2 separate regions of the Homo sapiens genome follow, and region 1 is linked to region 2. Evidence: promoter capture Hi-C in 16 types of primary human blood cells and fetal thymus (Javierre and others, 2016). All regions are on one chromosome and are shown on one strand. Each heading gives the region's core, a stretch centred on a gene start or on the middle of the fragment in contact. The rest is flanking DNA. Distances are from core to core; before and after follow the strand shown.

Evidence for each region. The method cuts DNA at HindIII sites, captures the fragments that hold promoters and counts their contacts. A CHiCAGO score of 5 or more calls a contact.
Region 1: a fragment that was not itself captured here is called in contact with the fragment with the promoter of THAP5 in region 2 in 12 of 17 cell types (non-activated CD4 T cells, activated CD4 T cells, naive B cells and 9 more); the score reaches 24.1 in non-activated CD4 T cells.

The regions. Positions count from the first base shown.
Region 1 is chr7:111,566,200-111,572,718 of GRCh38, forward strand. No RefSeq gene overlaps it. Among named protein-coding and RNA genes, the nearest start is that of IMMP2L, 7.0 kb to the left of the region's middle. The HindIII fragment of the contact is 6,837 bases long and covers 170-6,519 here.
Region 2 is chr7:108,564,894-108,572,433 of GRCh38, forward strand. THAP5 (THAP domain containing 5) reads right to left here and starts at 4,813. Exons shown (of 3, transcript NM_001130475.3): 1 at 4,597-4,813; 2 at 937-1,129; 3 at 1-212. The coding sequence starts at 4,676. DNAJB9 (DnaJ heat shock protein family (Hsp40) member B9) reads left to right here and starts at 4,981. Exons shown (of 3, transcript NM_012328.3): 1 at 4,981-5,210; 2 at 6,824-7,050. The coding sequence starts at 6,834. RefSeq lists enhancers at 4,396-4,875, 4,409-5,136. The HindIII fragment of the contact is 6,219 bases long and covers 3,870-7,540 here.

The sequences.
Region 1 (6,519 bases), core at 2,338-4,837, 3.0 Mb after region 2:
CTTGGAGAATTACTGCCAAATGGCCTTTTGCATTTCATTTGTTTGAATGTCATATATTTCCACACAGGCTTCTGTTAACACCTGAAATTATAGCCCTTTACTTATTTCAAGCTAAAACTCATATTTGTCAGCTCATATCAAACCATGACATTTCAATAAAGTTTTTAAAAGCTTTTACTATAGCAACTCTGATGAAATTGATATTATTATTTGAATTGATATGAAAACACTTGAGATTTCATTTATATCCTTCATCTCAAACGTTTTGGAAAATTTTGAATATAAATTGTACCATCTGGAAAAAATGTAAGATTGGTATATAGTTATTAATCCAATTTTAGGTATGCTTATAACAAGGTATATCCCCTTTTATAAAAATAATTTAAAAGCGAGCTTAAAACAAAAACAAAACAAGCAATTACAGTTTTATTTATGAACTAAATACTTGATTCTAAACTTACTACCTTGGAATAAAATTTTAAATATATAACCTTTCATTTTTATTACAAATAAAAATAATGTAAATCATCCAGTTTGGGGTTTTTTAATACAATTTCCAACTAAAAGAAACTAGAGCTGACCAACCAAATGTCTGACTTCAGATCTGGGTCAGGTTATACACAAGATGAGCATAGGATAACTTGTCCCACAAAGCCGGGAATCCATTAACAACAAAATGTGTCAAAGGGACACAGAAACCAATATCAAATAGCTCCTTTGGCCAAAGATGGACAATTTAAGCATCAAAAAAAGTAATGGATGCAGTTGTTAGAAACATACTGAATATATAAAAATTCATGAGTTCTTAATGATGTTCCAAAAAGGGGAGGTCAATAAAAGGAAAAAAAAAATCCACTGGACACTATTGCAAGTAGCTAGCATTAAGCCCTTATTCTAAAATTGTCCATTAAAAGAAAATAATTCAAATTTTCTGATGTATCTTTCCTGATTAAACTATATATCAGAAAACCAAATTGGTGTTGAGGGAAAGTTGTTTTTTATAATAAATATGAAACAACAGAATTGGAAACCCACCATTTAGCAATCTTGCATTTAATAAATGATTCAGGCAACCATCATCAATGGATCAAACCAACAGATGAAATGTTCATGAGGAACTTCACAATGGAGATCAGACCGTCACTACCTCAGCCTAATAATCTGTCATTACAAGTGGGACTCCAGACATTGTGTGCTTCCTGATCTAATGCCATCTGAAGCACTCAGCACAACTATGAAATGTTATCACCCAAAAAACATGAATGGGATCTAATCAAGCCTTAAAACTGACTTCTCACTTACAGGCTTACAAAAAACATGAGGGTTACAGGAATAAGTTAAATGACACCACAAAGAGGCTGGGCGCAGTGGCTCGCACCTATAATCCCAGCACTTTGGGAGGTCGAGGAAGGTGGATCACTTGGGGCCAGGAGTTCAAGACCACCCTGGGTAACATGGTGAAACCCTGTCTCTACTAAAAATAAACAATGAGCCAGGCATGGTGGTGCGTGCCTATAATCCCAGCTACTCAGGAGGCTGAGGCAGGAGAATCGCTTGAACCCGGGAAGCGGAGGTTACAGTGAGCCAAGATGGCACCACTGCACTCCAGCCTGGATGACAGGGTGAGACCCTGTCTCAAAAAAAAAGAAAAAAAGATGCCACAAAGAAGGAAACAGGTAAATCTAGAATGGAGTAGAATGGAGGACACTCTCTAGGACAATTGATGTAGTCTCTACAACAAGTTAATAACTGGACACACAGGAGAGGGAATGGGTCAGGAGAAGCCTAGGTTAAAAAAAATACAGCCATGAAATGTAAGATGTGAACCTTTATTTGGATCCTGATTGAAACATCACAACTATAAAGACTTGTAAGACAATCACGGACATTTAACTATGGACTGGTGTTAGATGATACCAAAGAAATATTATTTTATTAGGTGTAATAATGGCATTGTGATTATGTAAGAAAATGTCCATAATTTTTGGAGAGGCATTCTGAAGTATGTTGAAGTTAAATGACATACTCTCTGGAATTTACTTTATACTTCAACATAAAAAAAAAGAAGGAAGAAAAAGAGATAGCATAAATAAGAAAATAAAATGGATAATTATTGAATCTAGATGATGAGGGGAGTTCTTTGTACTTTTCCATGGTTTTCGTATATGTATGAAATTTTGTATAATGAATATTTAAAAATATAAGTGACGGCCGTAGCTCAGATTTTCTAGAAAACAGTGCCTGAGACAAGCTCACATGTTAAAATTTTCTTGGGGGTTGCAGTACTAGAAAAGCAATAATGAAGGAAAAGGGAGAACAGAGGCAGGGACAGAGGGAGGAAGATCCATGGTGGTATGTTTCCAAGCTGATTATAGCATCCCAGTACATGCAGTTGGTTGCTTAGTCACACAGGACATCTCAAGAAGGCTGTGTGAAACCACTGGGTAACAATCCTCCCTCAGGAGGGGAAAGGTTAAGGCACTTTTTTTAACTGGATCCTTCCTGCCTTCTGTCTCTCATTCATCAATGTTTGTTCCATAAAGCAGGGCAAGCATGTGGGGGAAAAAAGGTTGGGGGCAGGGAAGTGAAAATGGGTTTTATGAAGTGACTGAGATTTGTTTAATCTCACAATGTAGAATTTAAACAAATCAGTGACTTTTGGGTTTAGTGAAGACTTACCTATAATTTTAGCCTTTTTGAACTAGAATAATCATTCTGCTTGACTTTCTTATTACATCAGTAAATAATTTATTCAGGTCAAAGCCATTATTTTTGATTAACAGAAATCACAGTCACATAAATGGCTACAGAAACTAAATATAGGAGAAGGGTTCTACCACAGTGACCTGAACATTTGCATGCGCCCTTGCACATCTCCACAAAGGCCACATCAGCAAGACTTGACTGCAGCTGATCTAAGTCATGGTGGAATTCTGTTGATTCTCCTACAACATGAGATCATGAGAGGCTTGTTAAGAGCTGACCCAAGGCCATTTCTCATTCACCTCCCAGTTTCTCATTGCCTCCTGTGTTTTGAGGAGGTATGACACTTTCTGCCTCATTCTCCCTAGAATACAGCCTCAGGCTGTAAAACTGCTTAGCTGAAGCATGACATTGGTTCCTCAGGAACAGGGTGCCCTATCATCCAGGTTGTGGTCATCTGGCCTCCTTTGTATCAGTGTCACCCTGTGCAAGGGATACCAGAGCTGGCATCTTTGGCTACTCTTGCTTTTGCTTTCCAAGTAAGTAATAAACTGTCTGAATCTAAAAATGGCAACTCATTGTTTTCTTACTAGCTGAATCTATCACCCTTGCCTTACCTTGACAAATTCTAGGCAAGAAATTTTTACTTTCCTTAATGCTAAAGAGGTCCTTTACTCTTTCCTCTTTGTATTTTGCTCAGCCTACAAAGTTAGTAGCCAGTAAACAAACTGATATGAAAATATGAAAGACTTAGATTCACATTTTTAGAAAGAGTAACTGTTCTCTAAGTATTTTAGGATAATTTTTGGCCAACAGTTAAAGGAGCCTTCCTTCTCCTGGCCTTGCCTTCAAATTAATTAATAGGCTATTCTTACAAGGCAGGTCAAGATTCAGTCCTCTTAAAAAATAAAGACCAATCAGAAGGATTTTCAACAAAGTCCCTTTATTTTCTACTCACACTTAAACACTATAGTTGGTAGGGTTCAAAAAGTCTGGGAAAGAGGGAGACGAAGCAAGATGGTGAAATACAAAGCTCCACGAATCGTTCCCACTAACCCACACCAAGTTAACAACTATCTACATGGAAAAAAACACCTTCATAAGAACAAGAAATCAGGTGAGCACTCATAGTACCTTGCTTTAACTTCATAGTGCTGAAAGAGGCAACAAAGAGAGAAAAAATAGTACTGAATTGCCGATGCCACCCCCTATTCCTCCCCGACCCCAGGAGCAGCATGGTGTGGAGAGTGTCCTTGGGTGCTGGGGGAGTGAGAACACAGCAATTGTGCGGCGTTGAACTCGGTGCTGTCTTGTTAGAGCAGAAAGGAAACCCCAAACTCAGCTGGTGTCCACCCACAGAGAGAACATTTAAACTAGCCCTAGCCAGAGGGGGACTTGAGTGCCTGCAAACCTCGCCACCCAGGGCTACAGCTGTCTGTCTCCAAGTAAACTTGAAAGGCAGTCTAGGCCATAAGGACTACAACTCTTAGGCATATCCTAGTGCTGAAGTAGGCCCAGGACAGTGGACTGGTGGGGCATGTGACATACTGAGACACTGGATAGGTAGTCAAGGAAGTGCTGGCCTCACCCCTCTCCTAACCTCAGGCTGCACAGTTTGCAGCTCCAAAAGAGACACCTTCTTCCACTTGAAGAGAAGAGAGGGAAGAACAAGGAGAACTTTGTCCTGCATCTACGGTACAAGCTCAGCCACAACAGGATGGGGCACCAGATAGACTTGCAAGGCTGCAAGGCCCCTGTTCCAGGCCCTAGTTCCCAGAGAACATTTCTAGACACACCCTGGACCAGAAGAGAATGGCTTCAGGTAACAGCCCAGCCACAGTGGGTAGAAAATCAAGCAAGCTCTCGAGGTCCCTGATTCTAGGATTTTACTCTTGAACAGCATTTCCGGACCTGTCCTGGGCCAGAGGGGTGTCCACTACCCTGAAGGGTGAGTCCCAGGCCAGGCAGCATTCATGACAAGCTGACTTAAGAGCTGTTGGGCATTAAGGGAACATCAGTGGTAGTCTGGCAGTACTCTTCATGGCCCAGGATGGCAGTGGCTATAGGGTAAGGCTCCTCTGCCTTTGGAAAGGGGAGGGAAGAGTGGGAAGGACAGCATCTTGTGGTTTGTTTAACAGCTCAGCCACAATACAATAGAACACCAGGTAGACTTCTAAGGTTTTTCACTCTAGTCTCTGACTCCTAGACAATGGCACTTCTGTACCCACTGGTGGGCTGGGGGACCTTCCCTCCCTGAAGGGAAGGACACAGGCCTGGCTGGCTTTGCCATCTGGTGATAGTAGAGCCCCAGGGTCTTCAGCAAACATAGGCAGTAGCCAGGGGGTGGTTATAGGAGGCCTTGGTCAAGTACCAGTGCTCTGCTGGCTTCAGGTCTAACCCGGCACGGTCTTAGTGGTGGTGGCCACAGGGGTGTTTGTGTTACTCCATCCCTAGCTTTAGGTGGCTTGGAACAAAGACAGAGGCTGTTTGGGAGAAAGTAAGAAGAAAGGAACAAGAGTCTCTGCCTTGTAATCTAGAGAATTCTCCCAGATTTTGTCCAAGGCCATCAAAGCAGTACTCTGTGAGTCTGCAAGAATCATAGCATTACTGGGTTTGGGGTGCTCCCTGAAGTACATCACAACACTCACGTCCTTGTAGATCACAACACCCAAGTCCTTTCAAATATCTGGAAAGCCTTCCCAAAGATGGCTATAAATAAGCCCAGACAGTGAAGACTATAGTAAATATCCACTCTTCAATGCCCAGACACCAAAGATCATCTACTAGGATCAACACTATTCAGGAAAACATGACTTCATCAAATGAACTGAATAATGCACCAGGGATCAATCCTAGAGAAACAGAGATAGGTTGAAGAAACTCAAAAACATTCAAGATAACACAGAGAAGGAATTCAGAATAATATCAGATAAATTTAAGAAAAAGATTGAAATAACTAAGAAGAATCAAGCAGAAATTCTGGAACTAAAAAATGCAATTGGCAGACTAAAGAATCCATCAGAGTACTTTAATAGCAGAATTTGTCGGGGAATTTGCCCTGATATTCACGTAGGTTCTTTTCTATTTTTCCGAAGTGTCAGCCAGTTTGAGAAATAAAGGGACAGAGTACAAAAGAGAGAAATTGTAAAGCTGGGCATCCGGGGGAGACATCACATGTCGGTAGGTTCTGTGATGCCCCACAAGCCACAAAAACCAGCAAGTATTTTTTAAGGATTTTCAAAAGGGGAGGGAGTGTGCGAATAGGTATGGGTGACAGACATCAAGTACTTAACAGGGTAATAGAATGTCCCAAGGCAAGTGGAGGCAGGGCGAGAGCACAGGACCACAGGACCGAGGTGAAATTAAAATTGCTAATGAAGTTTCAGGCACCATTGTCATTGATAGCATCTTATCAGGAGACAGGGTTTTGAGATCAACCGGTCTGACCAAAATTTATTAGGTGGGAATTTCATCTTCCTAATAAGCCTGGGAGCGCTATGGGAGACTGGAGCTTATTTCATCTCTGCAGTTTCGACCATAAGAGACAGGCACACCTTGCGGGGGCTGTTTATAAGCCTAAAACTCCAGGCGTGTATTCTCTTTCTCAGGGATGTTCCATGCTGAGAAAAAGAATTCAGCGATATTTCTCCCATTTGCTTTTGAAAGAAGAGAAATATGGCTCTGTTCTGCCCGGCTCACCAGCGGTCAGAATTTAAGGTTATCTCTCTTTTTTCCTAAACATTGCTGTTATCTTGTTCTTTTTTCAAGGTGCCCAGATTTCATATTGCTCAAACACACATGCTCTACAATTTGTGC
Region 2 (7,540 bases), core at 3,563-6,062:
TTATTTTGTATACTTCCTGTTTTGGGAGCTGGTGGCTTTACCAAGGAAGATGAATGAAGTAATTCTGGATGTTGATGGGGCACATCTGTGTTAACTATATTTTTCTTTGTCTCATTTAATACAAATGATTCTTCTGACTTGGCTTTTGGGCATACTTCTTTCTCATCTTCCAAGTTTTTCTTCTGGGATTTTTTTTTAGAAGGGTCTTTTCCCTAGAAAATAATATTTTCATGTTCTGAAAAAGATGACTTTTATTGGCTTATTATGCTAGTGCTATTTAATTATAATATTGAGTAGTACACTGGCCAAGCAAATTTATTTAGTTAAAAAAAAGCTCAGAGTATATATACCTTAAAGTATTTTCTAAAAAGCATTAATCCCATTCAATATACGGCAGAAACATTTCAGATCATTCAAAAGACTAGTATATTGGGAGGCCAAGGCAGGCAGATCAACTGAGGTCAGGAGTTCAAGACCAGCCTGGCTAACATGGTGAAACCCCCATCCCTACTAAAAATACAAAAATTAGCCGGGCGTGGTGGCAGGCGCCTGTAATCCCAGCTACTCAGGAGGCTGAGGCAAGAGAATGGCTTGAACCCAGGAGGCAGAGGTTGCAGTGAGCTGAGATCGCACCACTGCACTCTAGCCAGGGTGACAGAATGAGACCTTGTCTCAAACAAAAAAAGTATAAAAAATAAAACTCATGAACTTGTGTTAATAACTTAATAATGTATATCTCTTGCTTCTCTTAAGCTGTGCTTCATGAGTTTAATTTTTTTTAATTATCACTTTTAGTAAAAGCACAAATTAGTGCTCCCTTTTTTCCAAGTATCTGTTTACCCAAGTTATAGTTCCCTCTTACTCTCCCACCTGATCACCTGCCACCCTGAAATCTGCCACTCTGCTCAGCATTACCCCTCTCCCATACTGCAATACCTGATTGTCTTCAGGCAAAGAAAATATTGTTGGAACTGCAGTTTGTTTTAAATATCGAATACCCCATCTGATGTCAAGAGAGTCAGGAGTAAAATGGTCACTACATAGAAACTGGTATTTACTGGGAACCCATGAATCTCGCTTCATATTCTTTAACCACTTTTCCAGTCTTTCTTTGTCATGTAGAGGAAATCTGGAATTTAAAAAAAAAAGAAGAAAAAAGGAAAAACTTTGCTATATTTTTACAATTTTGCCAAATTCCCACCCTATATATCTGGGTAACCTATGCATCAAGTAAGTACTACAAGAGGAAGGCAACCATCCCTACCAAATAAGAGCATCTTCATGACAACTAGTACCATTATCATCTCTGCAGTAAGAGGCCTAAGATGTAAGACATGTAGCCAAGGCTCTTATCTGATAAGAGCTGAACATAATTCAGAGTCCCTTCAAGTAAAATATATGTGTTCCTATAAAGGACAAAATCTATTTGTATTTTCTATGGATTATGTTCCATTTTTATATTGCTGTACAGTTTGCCTAGAACTAGAAAAAAGGTTTGTATAAATTATAAATTCCTATTCAAATGTATTTCATAATACCACCACATGTCAAATGGCTTGTTGTCTATAATTCAAGGCAGTATTAAGCTTTACAATCTTATTTAATATTTAAAAAATAAGATGTTATTTCAAACAAATGATTTAGCTGAAAAAGTACTGAAAATATTCTCTTTACTAGCATCATCTTTAATTCTATCTATAAGTAATCTAGTCTAATAGTACTACACTTCTATAACCAATGAACTGGGAACTCCAAATTTCAAGTTCTGAAGGAGAAACTGATAGAAGAAAAGAATGGAACATGTTAAAAGGGACAGTCTCAGATATTTTATATGAAACAAATCAAATACAAATGGCAAGACAGCGCTGTATACATTTTGTTCCTGTACCTGACAATAACCTGGATTTAAAGTTGGTGCTAACATTACAGTGTATGGCAGAATTTGATAGAAAATTTTTCCTATCAATCTAAAAAGGTTTGGGTCAAGGTATACAAAACAATATTTGAAAATGGTTTATATTCCATTTGGTACTTTTCCAAGAACAGAGTCCAAGACACCACATAATTTCCTGTTTTTAAAAATAGTAACAATATAAGGTTTCTCATATAAAATGTAGCTGTTATACACTCCCTTCCCGCAATCCCAATCATTTAGCTTATGTTTTGTAGTAGCATCATTTTTTCCCCCTAAATTCTGGTAACTTTTTAAGATGCCATGGAAAGTCTGGGTACTCTGTAAGATATAACTTTTAATCCTGATATCCTCATACGGAAAAAAATCAGATAAACTACCTTTGGAAATTCCAACCACAGAAGCAATATTAATCATGTTTTAAAAATATTTTAACTTTACAAATATTAGGTTGTAAGTATGACAAGCATAACCAGAAAAGGAATTTTAAAGGCAGACAAATTTTCTTTTAGAGGACCTGACTTCTTCTGGCCATTGGTAAATTCATTTCTTTTGTTACAACTGAAATGAGAATAGGCCTTTTACAATAATGCTTTTTACTGTAAATTCATGTATATGGATGCTGTTTGCAAATTATTTCCATTGTACCTATATGCTAAGTTATCAACTCATTAAAAAAAACTTTGTGAATATCCTTATTGTTTACTGGATTGTATTGCTTCAATAGGTAAATCTCTAAGAAATCTTGATCATGTTTCCTGAATAAATTATGTCTTTATATTGGTTCAATTCATTTGATAATTTTGTTTCATTGTCTTATGTAATTCCCCAAAAGGCATAAGATAATCACAGTACAAACTGGACACTATATTAACTGAATTCCCAAATTCATATACATTTAAACTACAGTTTGCTGTAGTGTTAACATGAGCAAATTCAATTCAAGTTTGACGCTACTGGAGAATAAAACTAATTCAATTTTTATTTTGTGGATTACACAAGAAAATTTTTTAAAAACCCTAGAAATAATACAACTTTTACTAAATTCACATTTTCAGTGAAAAAAATCTTTACAATTCACTTGCATTATTTTTTCCTTCCTAAAAAGTTACTGTAAGGTCCACAAAGTTTAGTTAAAAATTTCAGTGTGGGGTTATACCCCATCTCCAATATCAAAGGCCAAATAAATCTGGGAAATACGGGGTTAAATCAAGTTCAACATGATCTTTTGCTACAAACATTCTCAGAGATAGAGCCATTAGTACAGTAGTATTTCCCTATAAACTGAAAGTGGATTAGATTGTTTTCCTCCCCCAAACATCTCTTTGCATCTTGAGGCTGGGCTTCAAGGGAGACAATCCTGGAAATATTGCCATGGATTGTGAATTACTTGGGGTTATCAGTTTTTTTTTCTTTTGAGACGGAGTTTCGCTCTTGTTGCTCAGGCTGTGGTGCAATGGTGTGATCTCGGCTCACCTCAACCTCCACCTCCCAGGTTCAAGCGATTCACCTGCCTCAGCCTCCCGAGCAGCTGAGATCACAGGCATGCGCCGCCACGCGCAGCTAATTTTGTATTTTTAGTACAGACGGGGTTTCTCCATGTTGGTCAGGCTGGTCTCAGACTGCCGACCTCAGGTGATCTGCCCGCCTCAGCCTCCCAAAGTGCTGGGATTACAGGCGTGAGCCACCGCGCCTGGTGGGGTTATCAATTTTTTTTCCATTAATTAAAATACTGGAAAGCAGCCGAATCATTAATGAATAAGTCCTTCAGGTCTAAAGTAAAATGAGCACAAAACAACTGCTGAAAATCTGAACCAGGTTAGATCTAAATGAATTGTTTTTAAATACAAGAAAAAATGGAAATGCAGTATTTTAAATATGTTGCTTTTCATGTGTTATTAATCATGTGAGTACTATTAACATCTCCATGTTACAGATGAGATATGTGAGACACCAAAGCTTAAATACTTTCCAAGAGGTCATTAAGCTACAGAATAGTGGAACCAGGATCTAGCATTGAAGCCTGGACCCCTAATTATTATACGACACTGCTTGTCTGTACTTCTGAATAAAAATCAGTGCTTCAGTAGTTTGATGGAAATATATCGTGGCTCTAGTAATTCAGAGTAACAGAATAAAACCTTGTTCTCCGCAGAGTATCTACAGCCCTAAGCAGAAGACTAGTTTATAATTCTGGCTCTGACACTAAACTTTCAAGGTCGGTTACCTAATCATTCCGGGCCTCAGTTTCCTCAGGAGAAAAGTGGGATGAAATTATACCTATGCGACCTACCTCGCGGGGGGTGTAAATTAACTTTGCGTGCACCTTTCCACTTCGCAGGTTTCACGTATCTTAAATGGTGGTTAATGTTGTTCAATGAAATGAGATCACGTGAAGTGGGGAAAAGACTGAAAACCACAGAAGCCCGCGCAAACTTTACTGTTTTAACTGTTAACACCCAAACAGGCTCCTGGGCCTCGCCACCAGCCAGCAGTCCTCGCGCAAGAAGGGCATTGCTAGCTAAACTGAACTAGCGCCTTCCCTCCGTCTTGCCGCGGGCGACGGGCCACGTACGGAGAGCTGAGGACTCACTGGCAGAGCGGACAGGAGACACCCAAGCCCAAAGGCCACAGGTCCAAGGCCTCACGGCGAGGCTGACGCTTCTGCTCCAGAAACAACTTACGGATAAAAACTCAGCTTCCGGTCTTTATTGTTTCGTCCCCGGCGGTTCTTACAACAAATCGCTGCGCAATAGCGGGGCATGACTCGGGTGAGGCCCCTGGAGACCGGGGCCGGCGACGGATGCAGGGCGGCCCTCCTCACTGAGGATGCGCCACAGGTCCAGGCCTCTCGAGCCCCTGCGCCTGCGCTAGCATTCTGCCGGGAAAGCCGCCTCGTCTGTCGACTCACTTCCGCCTCCTCCGGTTTAAGCACCGCCTTTTCGGGGGTTGAAGCCGGAAGTGGCGCACAGCCCTAGCAGCAACAACAGTTTTCCACGTGCGCGTAGGGCGCCGGGATCACGTGGGGAGGCAGAAGCCAATGGGGAAGCGTTTCGTGTAGGTCTTCTGAGGTGGTGGCGCCAGCGGCTACCTCCTGCCTGTGAGGAGCTGGCTGAGAGGGGACTGGGCGCCGGCGGGGAAGGAGGAGCGCTAGGTCGGTGTACGACCGAGATTAGGGTGCGTGCCAGCTCCGGGAGGCCGCGGTGAGGGGCCGGGCCCAAGCTGCCGACCCGAGCCGATCGTCAGGGTCGCCAGCGCCTCAGCTCTGTGGAGGAGCAGCAGTAGTCGGAGGGTGCAGGTGAGGGACGAGGCCGGGGTCGTGGGGAGGGGAGTTCGGAGGGTCCCCGTAGCCCAGGCCTGTCTTTGTGAGCTGACTTGGCCTCGGTGTCCGCCACGGTCGCCGCAGGGACAATGGGCTGCATGTTTTTGGCCGAGAGAATGGAAGAACGGAGACAGCCGCATCACAGAATCGTGTTTTGGGTTGTGGCGCCGGCTTTCACGGGCGCCGGATTAGAGCCCGGGTCTCGGGCAGCTTCTGCGGCGGGGCCTGGGCGGGCAGGGAAAGTGCCAGTCGCCTTTAGGTGAAGGTTGGAGGGTCTAGCCCAGCCGCCCACCGAGGCTGGGGAATAAGGCACGGGCTGCTGGCTGGCGGGGCCGTCTTGGGGATGAGAAGTCTGTACAATACAAAACTAGTCTGCTAAAAAAAAATCATTAGATGTCCACCTTGAGACCGTGGAATAACGTCTGCTGAACCAGTGAGGCGCCTCCCTGTCAGTTTTAGATCCGCCCTTTGACTAGGGAGCAACCTGCAGTTGACGCAGCGTCCATGGGACACACTGTTGTGTTCCTTAAACCGAGAAGTGGTTCTTGATTCTTGGTACCCGTGACTACGAGTAACTCTCTGGAAATAAGTAATCTACCTGCCTGCTAATTACTCTCAGGAAAGGCCGCTGGAGAGGAAGCCAGGCAATTTCCACAAACCGTAGTGTTTTTCGTCAGCCTTATTATGGCATTATAGGTTACTAAGGACTCTGGTGGTCCCGTATTCAAAAAACAGGATCCATCCCTTCGTTTTGAATCTCAAGTCATTGAATACATATTGTCAAGAATTCTAAGTTAACATTTCTTTAATGGTTTAAAGGTAAAAGAAATATTTTAACTACTGAGTTTGTGAAAGTAAGAATCTGCCTTAACCACAGTACAAACTATCAAAGTTCATTTTTCTGGCAGCTTTAGCAGAAATCTTAAATTCTGTTCATCATGAGTTTTAAACAATATTTAGCCATGCTTCCTGGTTAAACATTTGGGATCTTACATTTGGGAAAAAGACAACATTCTATTGTATTGTCAGTATTAGTATTGTGATATTAAGATTCTCTATTTGCAGTCCTTGGCTCACCTGCTGAAATGAAAGCTGAATTTTTGGAGCGAGATTAATAATACTAATTTAGATATACTGGGCTATTTACCTTGGTGCGCCACCTTTTTTTTTTAATGTTTTTTTTTTCTGTGAAGTTAAATACATTATTACTTTCAGGATATGAAGTCTTGAAAGGAAAGTTGGGATCTTATATTATTTGGTTTTCTTTTTTTTTCTTACAATGCTTGCATATGATGAATCTTCAATATAAACTGGTTAAAAGTCAGTTATTGATAATTTTCTATCTCCTCTGTGTATGGCCAGAGTATTAGTAGACAGACAAAGCCAAGAATTATTTTTGTTCTCAATAAGGTTAAGCCAGTTTGAGAGTTATAAAACTAAAAGTGAAATTACATGTGGACAGGTAATAGATACTGTATGCTTACTATTTTGATACTGCATTAGGTTTACCTTGTGTTGGATTTCTTTTAAAAGAAAAACGTTTTAAGATTAGCTCCATCCATAACATTTTTTTTTCTTTTCTGTTTTAGGATATTAGAAATGGCTACTCCCCAGTCAATTTTCATCTTTGCAATCTGCATTTTAATGATAACAGAATTAATTCTGGCCTCAAAAAGCTACTATGATATCTTAGGTGTGCCAAAATCGGCATCAGAGCGCCAAATCAAGAAGGCCTTTCACAAGTTGGCCATGAAGTACCACCCTGACAAAAATAAGAGCCCGGATGCTGAAGCAAAATTCAGAGAGATTGCAGAAGGTAAATAAATGACAATCTCTGAAGTGTCATGGGTATTAACTAGTAAGGAGAATGATAGCTAAGAAGTGTTTGTATTTGAAGGTTTTGTGGAGATGGGAGGTGGAGTGGGATTTATGTATAAATATTGGGTGATTCTCTGAGATTATTTTCTTATCACAGATGCTTTGATTCCTGAATAAATATATGAAAGAATAATAGATAATTTTATTGGTATACGTATCTAAAAATATTGAAAATCTATTCTATATTATTTATAAGATCACTGTTGCTTCTATGACAAAAAAGAATTTTAGGTACCCAAAATTCTTATCAACTAACTTATGAAACAGAATATTTTACATTTTAAACATTAAAGACTTAAAAATTAAACTAGACTCTAAAGTGCTTTATTCACTTGATCTGCTTTTCAAAGCCATATTTGTCTTCAAAGAAAAAATTGGAACAAATTTTGACTTCAGACTAGCTCTAAAACAAATTGCACCTGCTGAGC